4 separate regions of the Homo sapiens genome follow, and regions 2, 3 and 4 are each linked to region 1. The links are contacts of gene promoters, found by promoter capture Hi-C in blood cells and fetal thymus (Javierre and others, 2016). All regions are on one chromosome and are shown on one strand. Each heading gives the region's core, a stretch centred on a gene start or on the middle of the fragment in contact. The rest is flanking DNA. Distances are from core to core; before and after follow the strand shown.

Evidence for each region. Contacts are between HindIII fragments. The CHiCAGO score rates a contact against its expected background, and 5 or more counts as called.
Region 2: a contact is called between the fragment with the promoter of BRAF here and the fragment with the promoter of POT1 in region 1, in 2 of 17 cell types (total B cells and naive CD8 T cells). The highest score is 7.8, in total B cells.
Region 3: a contact is called between the fragment with the promoter of TRIM24 here and the fragment with the promoter of POT1 in region 1, in 2 of 17 cell types (total CD8 T cells and total B cells). The highest score is 9.3, in total CD8 T cells.
Region 4: a contact is called between the fragment with the promoter of CNOT4 here and the fragment with the promoter of POT1 in region 1, in 1 of 17 cell types (non-activated CD4 T cells). The highest score is 5.2, in non-activated CD4 T cells.

The regions. Positions count from the first base shown.
Region 1 is chr7:124,926,993-124,932,343 of GRCh38, forward strand. POT1 (protection of telomeres 1) reads right to left here and starts at 2,833. Exons shown (of 19, transcript NM_015450.3): 1 at 2,802-2,833; 2 at 1,823-2,007. POT1-AS1 (POT1 antisense RNA 1) reads left to right here and starts at 2,881. Exons shown (of 8, transcript NR_125719.1): 1 at 2,881-3,024. RefSeq lists enhancers at 2,769-3,068, 2,823-3,117. The HindIII fragment of the contact is 3,988 bases long and covers 1-3,121 here.
Region 2 is chr7:140,922,447-140,927,797 of GRCh38, forward strand. BRAF (B-Raf proto-oncogene, serine/threonine kinase) reads right to left here and starts at 2,483. Exons shown (of 18, transcript NM_004333.6): 1 at 2,120-2,483. The coding sequence starts at 2,257. LOC105375536 (a long non-coding RNA gene) reads left to right here and starts at 2,646. Exons shown (of 5, transcript XR_002956518.2): 1 at 2,646-4,056; 2 at 4,625-4,743. RefSeq lists a silencer at 2,306-2,375. The HindIII fragment of the contact is 2,638 bases long and covers 385-3,022 here.
Region 3 is chr7:138,456,748-138,462,098 of GRCh38, forward strand. TRIM24 (tripartite motif containing 24) reads left to right here and starts at 3,512. Exons shown (of 19, transcript NM_015905.3): 1 at 3,512-4,165. The coding sequence starts at 3,802. RefSeq lists enhancers at 1,967-2,477, 2,881-3,663 and silencers at 3,174-3,563, 3,624-3,873, 3,904-4,383. The HindIII fragment of the contact is 2,319 bases long and covers 2,225-4,543 here.
Region 4 is chr7:135,507,870-135,513,220 of GRCh38, forward strand. CNOT4 (CCR4-NOT transcription complex subunit 4) reads right to left here and starts at 2,233. Exons shown (of 12, transcript NM_001190850.2): 1 at 2,020-2,233. RefSeq lists enhancers at 1,303-2,208, 1,979-2,178, 2,209-3,113, 2,489-2,608, 2,759-2,928 and a silencer at 2,179-2,418. The HindIII fragment of the contact is 7,472 bases long and covers 1-5,351 here.

The DNA.
Region 1 (5,351 bases), core at 1,583-4,082:
TGACAGATGCACTGAAGGCCCTTACTTTACCACAGTGCTATATATCAACATAGCAAAACTGCACTTGTTTCCCACACCTATTTACAAAATAAATTTTAAAAATTTTGTTTAAATTATCAAAAGTATCACAACTCATTTCTTGAAAGACATTTTCTGCTTTCATTTTTTCACCTGACATTCAATCCTCAAACTACTGAAAAATGAATTTGCTCTTAGTGTTTAAGCAAAACTAATCTTTCCAAGTGATCAATAATTTCTTGGTTATTAGAATGAACAGATACTTTTCAGACCTTTGAGCATCTAATAGCAACATAATGCTCTGTTTAGTAGCAAAGACAATGGGAATGCAAATCACTGCTCAGCCACTTACTGGCTATTAGACCTTGAATAAATCACTTAACCTGTGTTTGTTTTCCAGCTATAAAATGAGAATAATACTTAGAGTTCTTAGGAGAGAACATATACAAAGAGATTACATATACAAAGCATTTAGGAGAGTGCCTACTAGACAACAATCTATACAAGTGTTATTGAAACTTGCATTCTTACGTATCAAAGACTCCTGAGTTTCTTCCTCCTTCTCTAGACCATCTCTGCTACTTATTCATACTACTTTCTTTCACTGACTCCTTCAACATGGTTCTCTTCTCTTCTATGCTTTGGCTCAAACCCATCTAAATGAGAGTCCCTTTGGGCTTCAAACTCCCCAATCCACTTGCCTACTGCACACTACTATTTATATACCTCTAAAGACCTTTCAAATATGACCAAAATTGAACTTATCATGTTTCTCCCTAAGTATGTACCCCCTATTTTCTTCTCCTTGTTGGCTAGGAATTAGAAACAGAAGTTTCCTGAATTTCTCTTTGCCACTCTAGTCTAATTGTTCTCTAAGACCTACTGATTCTGCTTCTTTATCCTGTCAGGTCTAAAGGAAATCATCTATATTCAAATTCCTGCTCTACTTCATATCATCAATATGATCTCAGGCAAATTGCTTAACCTTTCTGAAACACAGTGTCTTTAATAACAGTACCTATGTCATAGGTCTTTGTGATGATTAAATAATATACGTAAAAACTACCTAACGCATGGAAAAAAATGCAATGAATGTTAACTTTAGTTATTATTATTACTATCTTTTTTCAATATCCTTCCCATCATCCCCTCTGCCACTGGCCCAGATCATCATCAACTCTCACCTAAATTACTGTAATTGCCTCTTAACTAAACATCTTTCCTCTAATCTTGCATTCGCCAATATATTCTCTACCTAGGAGCAAAGTTTTTTGAACTCAAAGTAAATCATGTCTTTCTCCTGCTAAAACCTACTAAAGACTTCCCATAGCTTTTAGAGTAATATCCAAATTCCTCAACATGCACATAAGGACTGCTTTTTACCTCAAAGGAAGGTACAGCACAGTCTGTTATCCCGTAAGTTCCAGCTCAACTTTCGTGATCTGTCAGAACCAAAAGCTCTCTCATGTTCACACATCACAATGCTAATATCACACCTATTAATTTTAATTGGAGATCAGGTGATTGATCTGTCAGACCCCACAGAAATGTGATTATCTTTAGTTCCGGGACTATATTTATTCATCTTTGTACCTCAGAAACTTACTCCAATGTTTCACACACGAATTTGATAATTGTTCGCTAAATAAGTACTGAATAAGAATAACTTATTGAAATATTCAATCTCAAATGTTATGACAAAGATAAAAACCATACCTAAACCAGTTCTCATAAATAAACTCAACACTTAAAAACTGCATTCCTTTTAGTAGGAAAAAGCATTCTGAGTTATAGAAATTCTTACCTGAATATATTTCTTGCTATAATTGTAACCTGGCTGTAGGGATCCGAAATCTACTTTATGTAATTTACTCAGCGGCTGAACTTCAGGCACCCCATTGACTTCCTTTATTAATTCAAGTGGCATATCAGTTCTGCTTCACACTGATGTCCAAAGCAAATTCAACTAGGGAATCTGACAACTTGCTGCTGAAAATACAAAACCAGTGTTTTACCCAAAATGAAGTCAATAATTTGCTTTAAGTCTCTTTGACTTAGTTATGCTTTTCCTTATTATAGTTAACACGGTTCGGGGTTGGGGGGTGACAGGAGGATGGATTATTTTACAATTTTATTGCAAAGATCAATACAAAACATTCTTCCAAGGAACTGAAACTTAACCATTTTCTACTTAGCTGCGTAAAGTACCTCCAAAAAGCCAGTTTTAAGATCTGTAACGTCACTAACAAACGCTTTTAACATTGTGCTTTAAAATGTAAAATTTATTGGGGAAGAGGGAGGCTGAAAAATCGTGTTTTTTTTTAACCCCCACGGGAGCTGTAATATTGTATAGACAAACTGTGCACCAAAAGCATCGTACTCCAACATGTTTCTGTGGCCCCCTCCCTTCACCCGCTAAATAAATGAAGAAACAAAAATTACTGAACTGAGATTAACTTCTGCATCGTAGGCTCAACCTTATTTCACAGACCTCTTGACGGGGACACTCACTAGTGTCGATATCTAATTTTAATGTTTGCGCACCAACCTTCCCCCAAGCCACCTGAGCTCTGTGAGGGCGGGGACTTGGACTTAACTCCTGTCTGCTTCTCCCAAAACACCAAGAAAGATGCTGAACACAGCAGGCTCGAGATAAACACTCGTAAGAAAGCGTTTCTCTGCGATAATTACATCAAATTTTGATCTAAACTAATTCAATCCCGGGCCCGTTACGTCTGGCACCCACTCAAATGAACACACCAAACCTTACAAATTTCACTCACCCGTACTCTAGAAAGAACCCTAGGAAGAGTTTAGGCGGGCGCGCAGGTGACGTCACACGCACGCTGACGGTTCAGCTCCACGCATGCGTGCAGGATCCCTGGGCATAGTCGCTTGTTCTCCGCCCGCGGTGGACCAGCTGCGTAACGGTTCACACACTGATGGCGCCTGGAGGTTTGGCGAAATACTGACAGGATGCGACGTCAACGGGAGCGCAGGGCCAAGGTACAGGCCCCGCCCAGTCCGGTCACATCCCCCGGAATTCTCGCAGCTCCCCTTAGCTCCGCCCCCAGTGACTTTCCAGCTTTCGTGGCGGGAGGCAAGCTTAGGGGAAGCGGGCGGGTCCGCTGGGCGGGATTTGAGCTTCCCTTTGGTAGATTCGAAGCTCCTGTAGGCAGAGCCTTTCTTTTAATGTCCAGTTCTCTTCCTCCAAGAAATAGGCACCTACTGCAGTCTTTACAAGGAAGCATTTACAAGGATAACAATGTTATTTGGGAGTTTTTATAGTAATTTCGGGCATTGGCATAATGCCACCATTGAGTCTTGCTATTTACAGACAGATTTGATTAACCTTGTCATTGTTTTATAGGGCCATGATTTTGTGGTATAATTAATATTTATTATAATTTATTTTATAGGTTTATTATAGTTTATTTAATATTTATTATAACTTATAATTGATAAATATTATAATTTATCATTTATAATGATAAATTGTTAAACATGAATTCTCTGCTAATTCCAGATATATGCCTTCAATCATTTAAGTGAAATCATCCTAGTGTGAAACTAAATGTAATAAAGAATTACATGAATATTTCCAAGGCTAATTTGAACTAAAATATCTTCTTTATATACATATTTGCAGGAGGATATAGCTAACTTTTTTTTTTTTTTTGAGACGGAATCTCGCTCTGTCACCAGGCTGGAGTGCAATGGCGCAATCTCGGCTAACTGCAACCCCCACCTCCCGGGTTCAAGCAATTCTTCTGCCTCAGCCTCCCTAGTAGCTGGGATTACAGGCGCAGGCCACCATGCCTGGCTAATTTTTGTATTTGTTTAGTAGAGACGGGGTTTCCCATTTTGGCCAGGCTGGTCTCGAACTCCTGACCTTGTGATCCGCCCACCTTGGCCTCCCAAAGTGCTGGGATTACAGACATGAGCCACTGTGCCCAGCCAGCTATGTTTGAAGTGCCTTTTTAATCAACAGGAAGCATTCAGTATTAGCCCATCTCCTGTTTCCCCTCCCCATCCCTGTAGTTATATCCCACGCAGAAGCCGGGGTGACAAGTGCATGAACTCAGGAGCTGTCCATTTGAGGAAAACTATAGGGAAGGTTTAGATGCTATCCTCCTTCCATCTCTGGCTGCATCCGGCTGAGAAATACTATTCCTCCTTTTTATGTGAAGCCCTCCACATGGGCTTTGGACCCTGACCAATTTCATCTCCCTTCCATCATCATCAATATATTTTCTCTTAATGTATTTTAAGCTTTCCTTCTTTTATTCATTCTTTCCCGTCACCATTTAAACACATTCTCCCAGGCTCTTGCTCTGTCGCCCAGGCTGAAGTGCAGTGGCGAGATCATAGCTCGCTGCAGCCTGGAACTCCTGGGCTCAAGCTATCCTCTGGCCTCAGCCTTCTAAGTAGCTGGGACTACAGGCACAGGCCACCACACCCGGCTAATTTTTTAAAAAAATTTTGTGGAGACGAGTTCTCACTATGTTGCCCAGTCAGTCTCACACTCCTCTGTGGGTACTAAATATTTGTTGAATGAACAAATGCTGAGGAAAACTGTTTATCTTACTTCTGACTTCCACCCCTCCATCCCACCCCTGCCCCCCACCACCCCATTACACTTAAACTGCCCTTAGAAAAACCACTGAAGAACTCTTTATTGCTAACCCAAAAGGACATTTTTAGTCTCATATTTTTGAAAACATTCTTTGTGCTACAACATGGTCCTAGTTTTCCTCTTACCTTCTACCAACTGAATCTTTTAAAATTTCTCATAATCTGTTTAGCCTGTAAGTATCCATGTTCTGTAGAATGTGATGAAGATGTCTAATAGAGGTATACGTAAGTCCTTTTATTTTGTTAAAGTGGTTGTTCTCAGTTCCTGTGGGACACAACACTTCCTACACGTTCAAGTAACTTCCAATCTTATTTCTTCTGCATAATCTCCCAATTAGTGGCAGAGGCTCCAGAGCCTGTAATGCTTTCCCTCACATTAGCAATTAATTTCCACAAATGAAGAAAATTGCTCATGAATATACAGTACAATTTAAGATAATAAGAGAGGAAAAAAAGAGATTGAATCAACTGAATAAGGCAATGAAGACATATTAATGCCAAAACAATCCATTACTATTGTTCTATGCCTGTTGAAGCAGCATAAAAAAGCTACTCTAAGGCTAACAATTAATGTAATTGTTATTAGAAGTTATGACTTTTAAAGGTTCAATGAAAAAAGTTTTTATATAAAATCTGCAATGTAAAAATGTTCATTTTAAGAAAAGTTAAAATTAAATTTTCATTAATAAATAATGAAG
Region 2 (5,351 bases), core at 1,233-3,732, about 16 Mb after region 1:
CACAAAAGCCTTCTTTACAGAATTGCAAACGGTTCTAATAACTCTGCAGCAAAGTTCCCAAGATAAACAATTTTATAATCAGAGAATTACAATTTCATAACCCCTACTTATTACTTCACTCATTGTTCCACTCTGTAGTAGTCTTCAAACAAGATACAATTCAACAAAACTACACATCTATTACAGAGTAAAATAAAATCCAGAGGCACCTGTGCCTGGTTAAGACAAAGGCATATCCGATTCCTGGAGAAAACAGACAGCAGATGTGACCCCTAGTATTTATCCATTAAAAACAATGTATCCTAAAAATAAATTTCCATGTCAAAGGAAACAAAGATGTTTATAAATAAGAAGGAACGTGGAGGTGTGGAGAAGAAAAGAGGAAGCTTCAGAAAGTTAAGTACCAAAAGCCAGGAAACAAGGCAAAATGAATGGTAACTGGAAACAAGGGAAACAGAATAAACTAGGAAATTGAAGTAGAGAAGAGCTTTCTCCTTAGAAATCAAGAAGCTGGGGGAAAGGAACAGATATGAGAGGAAACTGATCTAAGCAAAAATGCATACTGAAAAGTGGAATGATTTTAAGAAACTTAAAAATGAGAAATTTTAGAACAGATCAAATGATGGTACAGAACACATTTTGGGCATGTAACAAAGATGATATAAAGAGTAGAAAACAAACATTATCATAAACAAGCTGATGCTGAATAAAGCAAGCATATTGGATGAATTTCCAAAGATGATGATGCAAAAAAAAAATTGCAGAGAGAATGAGATGTTATGAGAATTGAGAAATTAGATGTTAATAGTAAGTAGCAAAGAGAACTTCGAGCAAAGTCAACAGAGTAAGTCACATTACCTAATCAATAACTGTAAACCACAATTATTATACCATATCTTATTTGTAAAGCATAATAAAGTATTATTTTCTGTAATAAAATACCAAATATTTGTAATAAATTTTATGTAATAAAAAAACGTAAATAATTTGACACAGTGCTAAGAGGCTGACTAATGCAAAAACAGGCTGAGAGAAGCAAGGACTGGAGAGGAAAAAGGAAAAGGAAAAAAATAGGACAAAAAGGAGGACAACACTAAGAAATCAATCAGACCTATAAAAATGGGTAGGAATAAAGAGGTGTGAATGCACAATGGACGACTAGCCAAAAAGTGCCAGTAGTGCAAGCGCGAAAAGAGCCAAGTGAAACCTGATGGAATCTTGACAGCTTCTGGGCTCAGAAAACAAGTAGCTCCAAAGTGTCCAGGAGGATTTGTGAAGATAACAACAGACAACAATGTTAGGGAGTGGTGAGATCAAGTACAGAGCCTCAAGAGGACCAGGGTAAGAGAAGTGCAAAAATGCTCTTAAGTGGGAGCTGGGGTTAGAAGGCAGGCAGGTCCGACAACTGGAAAATGAGCGGGCGGTAGATGGGAATAGAATGGGGGTTACCAATCAGCGACAGAGCGCTGACAAACATTAGGAACAGAGGACCAGAGACCAGAAAAGGCATCGGAAACTGCGATTTAGGATTGAAAAAGTAAAGACTAAATCAAAATAATTTGCTGGGTAAAACAGGTGAAGAGAAATCCCCAAATAGAAAAGTGAAAAAGGGCAGCGGACTGAGAAGGGGGGCAGTCCGGGAGAGGAGAGAGGAAATGATGAGCCCCATCATCCCCACGACCATGTAAGAATTACACGCGACAGTAACTCGGGCTGTTGTCTCAGCCCCAGCAACTAACCTATATCCTCCACGTCGAGGCCGCCGCCGCCCCCACCCCACAGAGATGCAGAGCTGGATACTTCAGCCAATCGTGACCTTCTCGGACCAACCCTGAGTTTCGCCCCCTATTGATAGCCTCCCGCTCAACCACCGCTGCCCCAATCCCCACATCTGGGGTGGGGGCCAGGGAAACCCCCCGGGCCATTGTGTGTGTTTACGTAGGAAGGCGCTGCATGACGGAGAGGGACACGGGGGCGATGCCCACCTCCCAGCCCGCGGAGCTGGCCCGAGAAGGTGGCTGAGGGCATCAAGCCCCCACCGCCGCCTCTTTCCAAAATAAACACCAGCCAGCCGCCGAGCCCGGAGTCGGGAGGGCGGCAGGGTGGCGCCAGCACTCACCTCCTCCGGAATGGCAGGGTCCGCAGCCGAAGAGGCCGCGGCGCCGGCGCCGGCGCCGGCCTCGGGCTCCATGTCCCCGTTGAACAGAGCCTGGCCCGGCTCCGCGCCGCCACCACCGCCACCGCTCAGCGCCGCCATCTTATAACCGAGAGCCGGGGCCCGAGCGGCCGCTGTCGGGCGGGGAGGGGGAAGGGAGGCGGAGAGCTGGGGGAGGCGGAGGCGGAGGCGGAGGCGGAGGAGCGGGGGGCGCGGGGGGCGCGGGGAGGAGCGGCCCGGGCGGCGCCGCGGGCGGAGGGCGCCTGGGCCACCTCAGGTACCGGCCCGCGGCCCCGGGCGCAGCCGAGCCTGAGGGGATTGGGGGAAGGACGCTAGGCGGGGGTGCGGGGGGGAGCGGGGGAAGGGGGCGGAGACGACGAGAAGTCGCCGCGGCAACGGCGTCACCCGCGTGTCACGGTCGTGACGTCACCCCGGTGCGTGACGTAATCTGAGGCGCGCCTTCGCGCCGTCGTCCGGGGAGGGTTTTTTCCCTTCTAACCACCCGCGCTCTCACACTTTGCCTCCGCTCCGCCGTTTCCATGGCTCCGGTTTCCTACTTTCCTCTTGTCTCCTCCGTCCTCAGCCTGTTCTGTAATGTGGGATTTACTAGAAGAGCAGGGCTGGTGTTCGAGGAGGAGAAGTTGAAATCCTAGAGGGAGGAAGGCGGGGAAGCCAATACTACTTGCTATTTCCACTGCAATGAACGTCTCTGTGTCATCAAAATAAGAACTTCAACCCCAAGGTTGAAACAGCCAAGCAGAATTTGATGGAAATATATTTAGGAACAGCTAAATTAGCAGTGCGACGCGTGTTTTCTTTTCATTGAAGAATTCAGCCAGTTAAAACGAGTCTAAATGGAAGTCTGAAAGCTTTTTCTTCATTGTTGAGGAATAAAATATTTCGTGTATTTTTCGTTTTCCAGATTCATTCATTTAACAAATATCAGTTGAGCACTTTCCATGCCGTAGGGCCTGTACAAGGCACATAGCATTCTAGACATCTGAAGCATCAAAACTAATCATTTTTATTTTGAAGAAAATCACTCAAAATATTTTATGTACTTTGTGCCTTTCATGAACAGAATATTCCAAGCATTCTCTGCAAAATACGCATGAAAACAATTGGGAGAGAAGAGGTCAATTATCTTTGAGAAGCCCAATTACAGAATGAAATTCAATTCATTATTAAAAATACATGGATCTAATAAAGAATAAATAATTGGAAAAGAAAAGTTTAAGGAAGAGAGAAACGGGAATGAGAAACAATTACTGTGGGCTCCCAATGGCCTGGAGTGAATCACCAAAGTAACCTAAACATGAAGTCATGAAAAACTAAGTGGATTCTGCCTTTTAGTACTTCCCATCATGGGGGAAGTCACCAGCGACCTCCTTACTGTATTTTGGATGATTCAAGAAATAGAAAGGTGTCCTACTGACTTCTGAAACAGGGTGTCTTCATATTGATTAGGGTCACCGTAAGCCTGGGAGCTGATGCTTACTCTCAGGTAAAGGATGCTGTGTGAGGCTGCTTGATGAATGAGAATACTAACATTCTTCTGCATTGAAAAAATATAACCTATAAGATGAACATTGTAGGCCGGGCGCAGTGGCTCACGCCTGTAATCCCAACACTTTGGGAGTCTGAGGCGGATGGATCACCTGAGGCCAGGAGTTTGAGACCAGCCTGGCCAACGTAGTGAAACCTCATCTCTATTAAAAGTACAAAAAATTAGCCTGGTGTGGTGGTGCACACTTGTAATCCCAGCTACTCAGGAGCCTGAGGCAGGAGAATCATTTGAACCTGGGAGGCAGAGGTTGCAGTGAGCCGAGATTGCACCACTGAACTCCAGCCTGGGCAACAGAGCCAGACTCTGTCTCCAAAAAAAAAAAAACATGAACATGGTATGCTTTGTTAACTTCATTGTACATTCTCCTCCAAGTAGGAAAGTTTCTATGAGGAAATAAATTTAAATCAAAAAGTGGCTTGGCAAATGTAGAGTAAATGATCACAAGGGATGATGTCATCAAGCTAAACTAATCTGAAGCACCCTTTACTATAAGGACATACTTAGAAGCAGACTGAAATAGCACCATTAGCCAGTCATGGCACCTTTTCCCCTTTCATCACCCTTTCATCACCCTTTCATCAGAAACACAACTGGCAAGATTTTTGTTAATTCTCTAACTGTCCTATTTCATTTTTAAAAAATTAGCTGCTAAAAATGTTATATCATTATAACACTTCCTTATAACATTAAAAGTTTTAAAGGCTTTTATCCTCACATTGGTTCCATTTTGAATTCTAGCCTTATTTGTCAGTATCAGTCTGTAGTTCAGATCTTCCATGATTATTTCTCCACAGGATGACTGGTCTCATCCATTTAATATTGATTCTTCTTAGCGTTCTACTCATTTGACATTTTCTGACCTTGCCTTAAAATTCTGGATATATCCTGTTTTACTTCCTTAGGCCATTCTAAAGTCCTACAGTATCCAGATGAGAAACGAGAGAAAGCATAAGCTTTGGAGTCCAAAGATCAGGATTTTAGCGTCAGCACTCCACACCTTAGCTATACAATCTCAAAGCAGGTAAGCTTAAATCCCTGTTTGTTGTTTTGTTTTTTAATCTATAAAATGAAGGTTATAATAATGCTAGCCCAACCTGCCAAACTATCATTGTGAGGATCAAACATTATACTTTCACCCTTTGAAAAATATAAAATTACCCTCTCAGTCAGAATTCAGACAAGGCATAGCAAAGATGGCTTATCTCTGCTCCATGATGTCTGGGGCTTCAGCTGGGAAGACTCAGTGCCTGGGGGTGTCTCAATGGTTGAAGACTGAAATCCTTTGGAGGCATATTTTCTGACATGGCTGGTGGTTGAAGCTGGGACCTCAGATAGGGCAGTCAGCCAGAATACCTAAATCTACTCTTCATGTGGCCTGAGCTTCCTCCTAGCATGGCTGCCTCAGAGTAGTCAGACTTCTTACGAAGCAGCTCAGGGCTTCAAATGCTAGTGTTTCAGTAAACAAGGTTAAAGCTGAATTGCATTTTATGATCTAGCCTCCAAAGCCACACAGCATGACTTCTGCTGCATCATTTTATATTATGAGCAAGTCAGTAAGTCGGGCTCAAATTCAAGGAGAGGGGATATTGAGCCCACTTCTCAATGAAGTGTCAAAGAATTTACAGCCAT
Region 3 (5,351 bases), core at 2,262-4,761, about 14 Mb after region 1:
CTCACAATCAGAGTTCTACTGAAAAATGATTTTCTTTTTTCTTTCTTTTTTTTTTTTGAGATGGAGTTTCACTCTTGTTGCCCAGGCTGGAGTGCAATGGCGCGATCTCAGGTCACCGCAACCTCTACCTCCTGGGTTCAAGTGATTATCTTGCCTCAGCCTCCTGAGTAGCTGGGATTACAGGCATGTGCCACCAAGCCCAGATAATTTTGTATTTTTGGTAGAGATGGGGTTTCTCCATGTTGGTCAGGCTGGTCTCGAACTCCTGACCTCAGGTGATCTGCCCACCTTGGCATTCCAAAGTGCTGGGATTACAGGCGTGAGCCACCGCACCCAGTCCCGAAAAATGATTTTCTTTTCCTTTTTTTTTTTTTGAGACGGAGTCTTGCCTGTCACCCAGGCTGGAGTGCAGCGGTGCGATCTCGGCTCACTGCAAGCTCCATCTCCCGGGTTCACGCCATTCTCCTGCCTCAGCCTCCTGAGTAGCTGGGACTGCAGGCGCCCACCACCATGCCCGGCTAATTTTTTGTATTTTTATTAGAGACGGGGTTTCACTGTGTTAGCCAGGATGGTCTCGATCTCCTGACCTCGTGATCCGCCCGCCTCGGCCTCCCAAAGTGCTGGGATCACAGGCCTAAGCAAGCCACTGTGCCTGGCCGAAAAATGATTTTCTTAAGTGTCCCTGGAAGTTATAGAATTTCCACCCACTAGCACCTTTTGAGGGGTGGGATGAGAAATCTTACTAGCATCTAATGCTTTTTTTTTTTTTTGAGACGGAGTTTAGCTCTTGTTGCCCAGGCTGGAGTGCAATGGCACGATCTTGGCTCACTGCAACCTCTGCCTCCCAGGTTCAAGCAGTTCTCCTGCCTCAGTCTCCCGAGTAGCTGGGATTACAGGCATGCAACACCATGCCGGGCTAATTTAATGTTTTTAGTAGAGACAGGGTTTCTCCATGTTGGTCAAGCTGGTCTTGAACTCCTGACCTCAGCTGATCCGCCTGCCTTGGCCTCCCAAAGTGCTGGGATTACAGGCATGAGCCACTGCGCCCGGCCAGCATCTGATGCTTTTATTCTCCTTGCTGATGCCCTTCTCTTCCAGTTCAGACAGCTTTGATCTCCTCTCTCATAGGTGGTGGTAGTGGTGCAGTTAAGAAACAAGAAACAGCGCATCATCCAATTAGGCGGAAGCACAGGATGGATATGGGAAAGCAGTAACATCAGACAAGAAGATCAGATGGGAATAAAATTGTGGAGAGCTTTGGATGCAGTGGAGAGCCACAGAAAATTATGGGATAAGGGAGGGACATAGGATGAGAGCTGTAATTAAGGAAGAGTAATCTATTGGTAGTGTGGATCTTTGTGAAATATATTTGAACACGCTTTGTAGGGCAACAATATCCAAATAAAGAAATCATATGATTAAGAAAAACAAACAGTAAATTCATTTTCTGGACTTGAAGTTCCATATATGTGAACAAAGTACAATGTACGATTGTTTTACTCATGTGAAATTAGGAAGGCTAAAACGATGGAAGATCATTTTCTGTAAAACCATGGTGATTTGAAAAACTTTAAGCTAGTGGGTTTGATCAAATTACATGGAATTCTTTCAAAACCAGCCTATTCAATTTTACTTCTCAGTTTTCCTTCCCTACCACCATCATCTGGGGAATAAGAGGGACTTGTCTTTAGTAGGCTTGAATCCTGTATACCACCTATGTAATGAATTTTTAGCATATTAAGGGAGTTGATTTTTGAATACAAAATTCCATTCCTATTATGTGAATGTTTTCAAGGTGTAGCTTCAAAAATATACAATATGGTTTGAATTCTGGGGAAGGAGTGTTCAACTTTGGGGTGGCTTTAGGGGATAACAGATAAGTCAGAATTTTGAAGGAACTAAAACAAAGGGAACAGCGTGTACAAAGCAGGGTGGCCTTACAATTGCTGCAGCATGAAGCATGAGAGTCGCGGCGACTTCAGCTTGAGAGGCATATACGGACGAAATCGTGGAGAGATTTGTGAGTGGGTGAAGACCTGTGGGACAGACTTCCGTTTCTGGACCCACCCAGGTCAGAATCACTTGAGATGCTATCAAAATTGAATAACTGAATACGGAGGTGGCCCAAGCACCTGTTTTTCACTAAGCTTCTCAAGTTATTCTTATGCAAACTAAGGTTTAAGAGCTACTTCCATGCAAAAAAACAAACAAACAAAAAATCCCAAGCTTAAACAGGAACCAATGGGTGGGGGAGGCGGGAAGAGCTGTTGAATGTCTTGTGATTAAGTAAAAGAACCTCTCACTTGAGGCCTACGGAGGTTGTGTTTAAGGGCAAGGTCTTGAAGGAAGGCTACGTTGCCTAGCCCTCCCCCATTGCCATCCCATATAGTCCTCCAGGAAAACTGTGATTTTAGCAAAGCCTTTCATGACCCACTCCATCTTTCTCTAAAGTCCAGTACCGCTTCATTAGTATTGACAAAAAAAAAAAAAAAAGGTAAATACTTCTTAAAGTTACGTGTTACAAAATCTTGTTTCCTTCATTCCGTTTCTATTCTTCAAGTTCCTTAAAAGCTGCGCCATTTTTTGAGTGAAAAATGTGCGTAACTTCTGATATCAGCGTAGAGAGGTGAGGGAGGGAGGGAGGGAATAAAATAAGAGGGAGGGAGGAAATACAAAAGAATCCTGAAGTTATGAATTATTTGGGTAACAGTATTGAGGTTTATTTTTGCTTAATGATGCTATATTTATGCAATAAAAACATTTGTCAATCTGTATTAATTCCTGGGAAAACGAACCACTTTTAGTCACTTAAAAAGCAAATCACTGACTTTAAAAATTAATTTCACCTTTTTCATTGGGGAAACCCTTTAAAAATTTCCAACTTGCACGAGAACTTCCCCCCCTTATTCTTCATACTCATTCATTCTAGAGATGAGTAAAATTAGGTTGCAATATCCCTGCTGCCTCCAGAGTACCTCTTTCACACAGTATTTTAAAAAATTATTTCCTTGTTTGCTCTTCAGTACCTCCACTCCTTCCTCCTGTGACCCTCCGACCATATTTACTCCTCCTACAAGACCAGGTCTCCAGTAATGAAATCAGTTTTCCAAGCAGTTACTTAATTAACGGCATTGAGTAGACAAGTGAGGTCCCGCCCCCTAGGAGGAGCTAACACCGCGGACCGAATCAGGCGGATGGTCGTTAACAAATGAACCCTTAATCTTTTCAGAGGAGGAAACATACACAAAGGCCCAATCAGAAGCCGCGATTTCAGGCGTCCGGAGGGGGCGGGGCTGGGCAAGCACCTCCCACTTCCCAACCTCCCGCCGCGGCCGACGGAGCCTCGCGGGCTCCAACAGGTCCCGCCCCCTCGCCAGGCGCGGCCGCTATTGGGCGGCGCGCTCCACACCGAAGCCTCAGTTGCTGGGAGAGGGAGGGCGGGGGCGGGGGCGGGGCCTGAGGTGGGCCAGGGGGATGAAGAGAAAGGCGGGGAGGCAAGGGCGGGCTGGGCGTATTCCACGAGCGCCTCGGCGGTTGGCGAAGCGGACGGGGTGCAGCCTCCCCGGTGCGAGGAACGGTCTCCGCTGACAGATACCCTCCTTCCGGCCGCGCCACTCGGGAGGCGGATCCCGTGGGCCTGAGGAGGCTTCCCCCGCCCGGTTTGCTTTCCCTCCCTCGCTGGCGCTGCCGCGAGTCCACCGAGCGGCCTCTGAGGAGCAGCCGCAGGAGGAGGAGGAGGTCGTCGGGGGCGGCGGGCGGAGACCGCGCTCTCGCTTCCCCGGCGGCGGCAAGGGCAGGACAATGGAGGTGGCGGTGGAGAAGGCGGTGGCGGCGGCGGCAGCGGCCTCGGCTGCGGCCTCCGGGGGGCCCTCGGCGGCGCCGAGCGGGGAGAACGAGGCCGAGAGTCGGCAGGGCCCGGACTCGGAGCGCGGCGGCGAGGCGGCCCGGCTCAACCTGTTGGACACTTGCGCCGTGTGCCACCAGAACATCCAGAGCCGGGCGCCCAAGCTGCTGCCCTGCCTGCACTCTTTCTGCCAGCGCTGCCTGCCCGCGCCCCAGCGCTACCTCATGCTGCCCGCGCCCATGCTGGGCTCGGCCGAGACCCCGCCACCCGTCCCTGCCCCCGGCTCGCCGGTCAGCGGCTCGTCGCCGTTCGCCACCCAAGGTGAGAACCGGCCGCGGCCGCTGGGGAGCCCGGGGAGAGGGCCAGGAGGGGGCGGGCGCCCTTGTGCGGCGCGACCCGCTGTCATGTCGCCGCCGCCCGGGGTGCGCGGCGGGGGAGGGGCGAGCAGGAGGGTCTGTGCTGGCGACGGTGACATGGAGGGCCCGCGCTCTGCGGCGTGTCGCGCTCGGCCAGCAACTTCCCCGGGCGCTGTGGACTTGACCGCGCCGCCGCCGCCGCCGCTGCTCCGCATTCTCAACAGCCGGGCGGCCCCTGCCACTCGCACTTTTGCAGACCTCTGTCGGAGTCTCCTGCAGCCGGAATCTCGGGTTCTTTGCCGGCTGCAGCCAGTTAACTGCTACCCGCCCGCTGCCTCCACAAAGCTTTGTCCAGGTCCATATGATCCTGATCATCTCGTCTATACTCACGTTATTTGAGCTGCAGGGGAGAAGGGAGGGATGAAGATGAAGTGATGGTGACTTTCTTTGATGATTGATTGCAGATCGGATGTCATTTATTTCTTATCTTGCATGTTTGGGGCTCTTTACCTTAATGAGTTCCCAGTTCTCTTCCCTCTCCTCTGCTGGGGACAAAGGAACCAAGAGACGTTGTTTTGTTGTGTGTCTCTTTCAAAGGTTTTATTTTGAGACGGCGAAGAGAAATAATACAAAGTGATTTGGGTTTTCTGGTATTTTATAGATAAAGCTGGAAGTTACTGTTCTCTTTGTGGTGTTTATTACTGTAAAATTAGACTTTTGACAGGTGTTCCATTGCTAACTTTGACAGGTTTGAAACATTTAAAGTAAGTTTGAGTACAGTTTCGGGTAGAACACTTGGCGGTTTTTAAATTTTATTATTGCAAATATTTGAGCACCTCCTTTTTAAAAATACAGTGTAACTGGAAAAGCATTTTTAATACTTTTTAGAGGAAATAGTTGATTTAGTTTGAAATAAAATGCTAATTAAGTAATTATGCTAGGTCAAGGGGCGTATGAAATGGATACTTCAAATAGATTGTGGGCTGAGACTCATTTATTTGACTGCATGTTAGGAGCAGTATCCACTTGTAGGAGACAGTTTTCCGTGGGTCTCCGTTTCTTCACTCTTGCCAGCACCCTTGCCAGCGAGATACTGACTGCCCTTTGTTTCTATTTTTTCACGGATATTATCTAAAGAGCAGCCTTGGAAG
Region 4 (5,351 bases), core at 983-3,482, about 11 Mb after region 1:
TTGTAACTTAGCACAAAGTTTGCTATATAAATTGCTTGCAGTTCTAAGAGTAGGTATTTATTTGGTCCCCCAAATTGGGGCTTAAGTGGCTGAAAGAAAAAAGTTTTATAAACAGCTTTTCTAACCTTAGTTTACATTTGGTAAAACAGACCATTTATCACAATCAAGTGAACATAATGCCAAATGTTAAGATTCCAAATTTTACAGGTAAAATTTGTAAAAATTACAATAACCCAGTAATGGACTGCCACATGAGACTGTCACTGATTTTAAACATTTTTACATATATCTTAAGAATACAATGTCATGTAAGTCATGTTTAAACTTGGGATGTATGTATTTGAACTATGTAATCTTGGTTGCTTTTCTGGTAATTCTTTATCTCACAGTGGTCTGATTATAGCCAGGGCTGCTTCTTCCCATTTTACCATTAGTCAGTACATCTTAATTTTGCTTTCACCAAAACATGGACATCATAAGCCACCTCTTGCTTCCAGTTTTCTGCTTTTTACTGTAGATAACAATGACAGTGAGTTCCACCAAATGCATGTATGTGCACAGCTTTGTCATTCTTTTCCCAGCCCCCTTCTTTTCTATGAGAAAAATACGAGGAACTTAGGTTTATATAAAAATGTCGATTTTTCTTTTGCATACATAACTAATGGATTTTCAAGACAAGACAATTTATTCTGATAACTATCATCCTAGAAATGTCAAGAGAACTTCCCAAATCCAAAAATAAGAAGAAAATCTGATATTAACTGGAGAGGAAATTTCCACTCAAATCATAAATAAAATGTCATCAATTAAGCTGAACATCAATAAAACTCAGTCAAAAATCAAGCCTCAATACAGAACCCACACATAACCCACATGTAATCAAAATATCACTTATATTTGCTAGCGGAGTTCACAGATGAATTCTGTATGTGCGCCAGATTTATCTTATTTTGTAATGCTGGGGTTAATATTTATTGGTATAAATCAGGGCCCACACTAAGTGTCCTGGGGAGAGGCAATCCAAAGAACGCTTAGTAGCATGATAAAACCGGTCCAAAACGAAAAAAAAGAAAAAAAGCCAAGTCCTAACACAACAGAGCGAATAAGCGACAAATAGATCACAGAAAGCAAAACGAAAACGGTCCTCTCCGGAGTAGCCTGAATAAAAGATCTTCACTCATAACGTTTAATAGTATCCTACCTCACTTCATTCACTTCCCAACTTCCTTTTACTTTTCAAGGGCCACCACGGGGCTTCCCTTTTTCTGGAAGTGTATATTGAAAGGATCTGTACAGGAAAGAGGGAAGGAACGGACAATTCTCAAGAAGGCTGAGAAACAGGTGGGTTAGCAGGAGGAGCATAATCTAGATACTTAAGGGGCAGCTTTAAGATGACAGATGTGGTGGAAGGAAAGACTGCAAATCGGAAGCAGCTCTAGTGTGGCAGATACACTGTGGGCTGATTGCAAGCACCAGAGGGGGGCAAAGGCTAACTCCAGAGTGGTAGCAGTGGAGCAAAAAAACAAGCAGCAGGACGAGTGGGCAATGAGCAGTGGGATTAATGAGCAGCAGCAGCCAACACGGATCAGAGTGGAAGTGATGGCTTTGGTCTTGGGAGACGGGGGCCAGAGGGAAAGGACGTCAGACAGGGAACAGGGGATTGGGGAAACAAGGAGGGCTGAGACCTAAGAATCCTGCCCCGGTGAAAATGCAGGGGGAAAAGCTGGAGACCAAAAGCCGCCTCGGCTCCCCAATTAAAGAAATTCTCGAAGGAGAGTCGCTGCTTGCCGCCGCGCTGCCTTCTGACCCGCTCCCTTTTCCTTATGGTAACTGCTGTGGCGTAAAGGGGAGAGGGAGGAAGAGGAGGAGGAGGAAGAAGACCAAGGAGGAGGAGGGTGAAGATGAGGCGGGGGGTGGGGAGAAAGGGGGGTGCGGCCTGTACAGTCCCAGCGAAGCCTCCGCTCTCTCGTAGCCGGTCAGCCCCGGGTTTCCCCTAAGCCCAGCCCCGCATAGACTCACCCGCCTGCCTTGCCTCGCTTTTCCCTCAGCCGACTCCACGGGCTGCCGCGTCCTCACAAGAAACCACCGAACGAGCGTCGGGGAAAAAACTCTTCAGAACCGGGCCTGATTGCTTCAGCGAGTCCGACCTTTACGGCTGAGAGAGAGACTCTCAGCTTTCGGTGGGTTCCACAGCCAGACGGGCCACCATCTTACATTAGGGTAAGACTCCTCCGGCCTCCCGTGCGCAGGCGCACGCTGATCCGGCCAGGAGGGGCGGGGGAGGGGCGGGAGGAGCGGCGGGCGGCTGAGTGGGAGGTTGCGGTGGCCGCTCCCGCAGCACCCTGGGAGTTGAAGTCCTCGGAGGGTAACCTCCCAGGGGCACGCCGGGAGTTGAAGTCCTCTCTCAGAGGGCGGAGGGGATCGCCCACCTCACGTGGCTGCTGGACTGATGCCTTTCTTCGTGTTTTGCTTCCTTCTCTGCACGCGTGTGCTGCTTCAATGTCATTTGGTCGGCGGTTTTCACTAGTGATTCCGTGTCCTCGGTGTTTGCGGAAATGTGCTACCCCAAGACTGGGGCGAGGCTAAACAGTTTTTCGGGGAGCCCGGAATGTTTATTCTCTGCCCCGCCCACCAGGGATATCTAAAGGGGGCGGGGTGGAGGTGGAGGCAGGTTGTGGGTACGAAGAGCGCGGGATTTGATCCAGGGTGAGAATTTGATACAGACTTGGCGTCTGTTTGCGAACAAGGAGGAAACAGGCGCCTGTTTAATTCATTTCCCTGTCCTTGCGCATTTGGGGCCACCACCCTTGATCCCTTCTTCACTGTAAAATCACCAGTGAAGACATACACTAAATTGTTCTGTGCAGATTACCCAAGAGAACGGAACACCCGTGCACTTACAATAACGTGCTTCTGTTGGTGTGAATTTGAGAATTTGCGGACCTCGGTGCAAATTAGTGTTAGTTCGGTGTCCAGCCAGCACAGCTGTGTGCAAGTTTACAAACTACACACATCGGCACATCCCCAAGAACAATAAATGCAGCCACAATCCCTACGAGCACTGAGGAATCATCAGTCACAAAAGTCAGTCAATGTACTGGTCGCCCCGTTTGCATCCCAGAACTCTGGTGGAAGTGGCGCTCGAAGCAGTAACTTTTGCTTATTGCATGTATTCTTCACCCACTCATACAGCAAATACTCAATGAGCTCCTCCTAGCTGCCGGGTACTCTTCTATATATTGAGAATACAATGGTGAGCAAAATAGAAAAAATTCCCTGTCCCTATTCTAGTGATGTGTTGGGATGAGGAAGAGGAGAGAAGAGGCATTATTTTAAAAATACGTGATTAAAATGCATAGTATGTCATAACCGATTTTAAAAACTTAAAGCAGGGAAGGGGAGTAGGGAAAGAGGTTGCAGTTTTAAATTTACGAACTTAATTTCATAATAAGCCCTCAATTCATTGTTTTTTCTTTTTTTTTTTTTTTGAGACGGAGTCTAGCTCTGTCACCCAGGCTGGAGTGCAGTGGCGCGATCTCGGCTCACTGCGACCTCCGCCTGCCGGATTCAAGTGATTCTCCTGCCTCAGCCTCCCGAGTAGCTGGGATTACAGGCACGTGCCACCACGCCAGGCTAATTTTTATATTTTTAGTAGAGACAGGGTTTCACCATGTTGGTCAGCCTGGTCTCGAACTCCTGACCTCAGGTAATCTGCCTGCCTCGGCCTCCCAAAGTACTGGGATTACAGACGTGAGCCAGGGCACCCGGCCTCATTCTTTTGGTACATTGGTTTTCTGTGTTTCAGTTTCCTCACTATAAACCTAGAGACAACAGTTACTTGGGTAAAAATTAAAATATGTAGTGAAGTCACATTTTACCCAAAGTTTGAAATTATAGAATCATGAAATGATTACCTAGCAAGGAAACTTGGGAAATTATTTGGATTTCCCTTTAGGTAATTAAATGCCTAAACATTCAATATGGTTGACATTTTTATTTAAAAATGTGTTTATTGTTCTTGTATATATTACTGATTCTATAGTAGTATATAAACAAAGTAATGAAAAGAACAAAATAAAAAGAAGCCTTCCCATTATGAAAGATTAGAATCATCACAGTAAAAACTGGAAGGGATCTTAAGCATCACCTAATCCAGTGGCAACCTTATCTTACCCAACATTCCTTTTTTTAATAAATGTTTTTATAATATGCTCTTTGTTAGCCTAAAATGAAATTCATAGGTATATAAACTACCTATATACATGATTTCATCTGAAATCAAAATGATGTGCTATTTATAATATAAATGATATGAAGAAAATATTTTATAATAAAATTGTATTTCAATATATAAATGCTCAGCATGACCATTCTAGAAATACAGTCAAGTCATGGTTTGCTAGCACTTATAAATAAAATATCCAACACTAGGGGGCAATGCCACCCCTGTATTGAGACTGACAGTAAGGAGGTGACAGTTCCTAGGTCACCAATTGTAAGAGTCACTACCATCTCAGGCCAGTACTCCTTTTACTATACTACATTGCCAGTTTTCATATGTTTATGTATGCATATGTGTATATATATACTATCATATAGACTTATGTATGTAACACTTCATTCTCATATAATTTTAAAAGTTAACATTAAATTTGGCCAGGTGTGGTGACTCATGCCTGTAATCCTAGGACTTTGGGAGGCTGGGGCGGGAGAACTGTTTGAGGCTAGAAGTTCAAGGCTAGCCTGGGCAACCTAGGGAGACTCTGTCTCTACAAAGATAAAATTTGAAAAACAGCTGGGTATGGTGGTGCCTGCCTGTGGTTCCAGCTACTTGGGAGGCTCAGGTGGGAGGATCACTTGGGCTTGGAAGTTGAGGCCGCAGTAAGCCATGATCATGTCATTGTCCTCCAGCCTGGGCAACAGAGTGAGACTCTGTCTCAAAACAAAACAAAACAAAACAAAAAACATTCAGTTGTATTACTTTGCTTACCTAATGATTCCTAAGTGTGGAACCTATCTATTCACTTAACAAATCTATTTTGCCTTTAGGCATTGTGCTCAATGCTGGTGGTATAGCAAAACAATGGTCAGCAAAACATGGTCCCTGTCCTCATAGAGCATAATGCCTAGTAGAAAAAGCAGAGATTAAATAATCATATAAATAAATAACTACAAGCATATAAACAGAATTTCATATATATGATTACAATTGGTCATGAGTACTAAGAAGATGTATAAAGGATGTTATGAGAAAGTTTAAGAGGGGAGCCTAATTTAGATTGGTGGGGAGAGGAGGGTAGTCTTTACCAGGTTGAGAGTGGAGAATATGCAGAGACAGGAGGTGGTTAAAA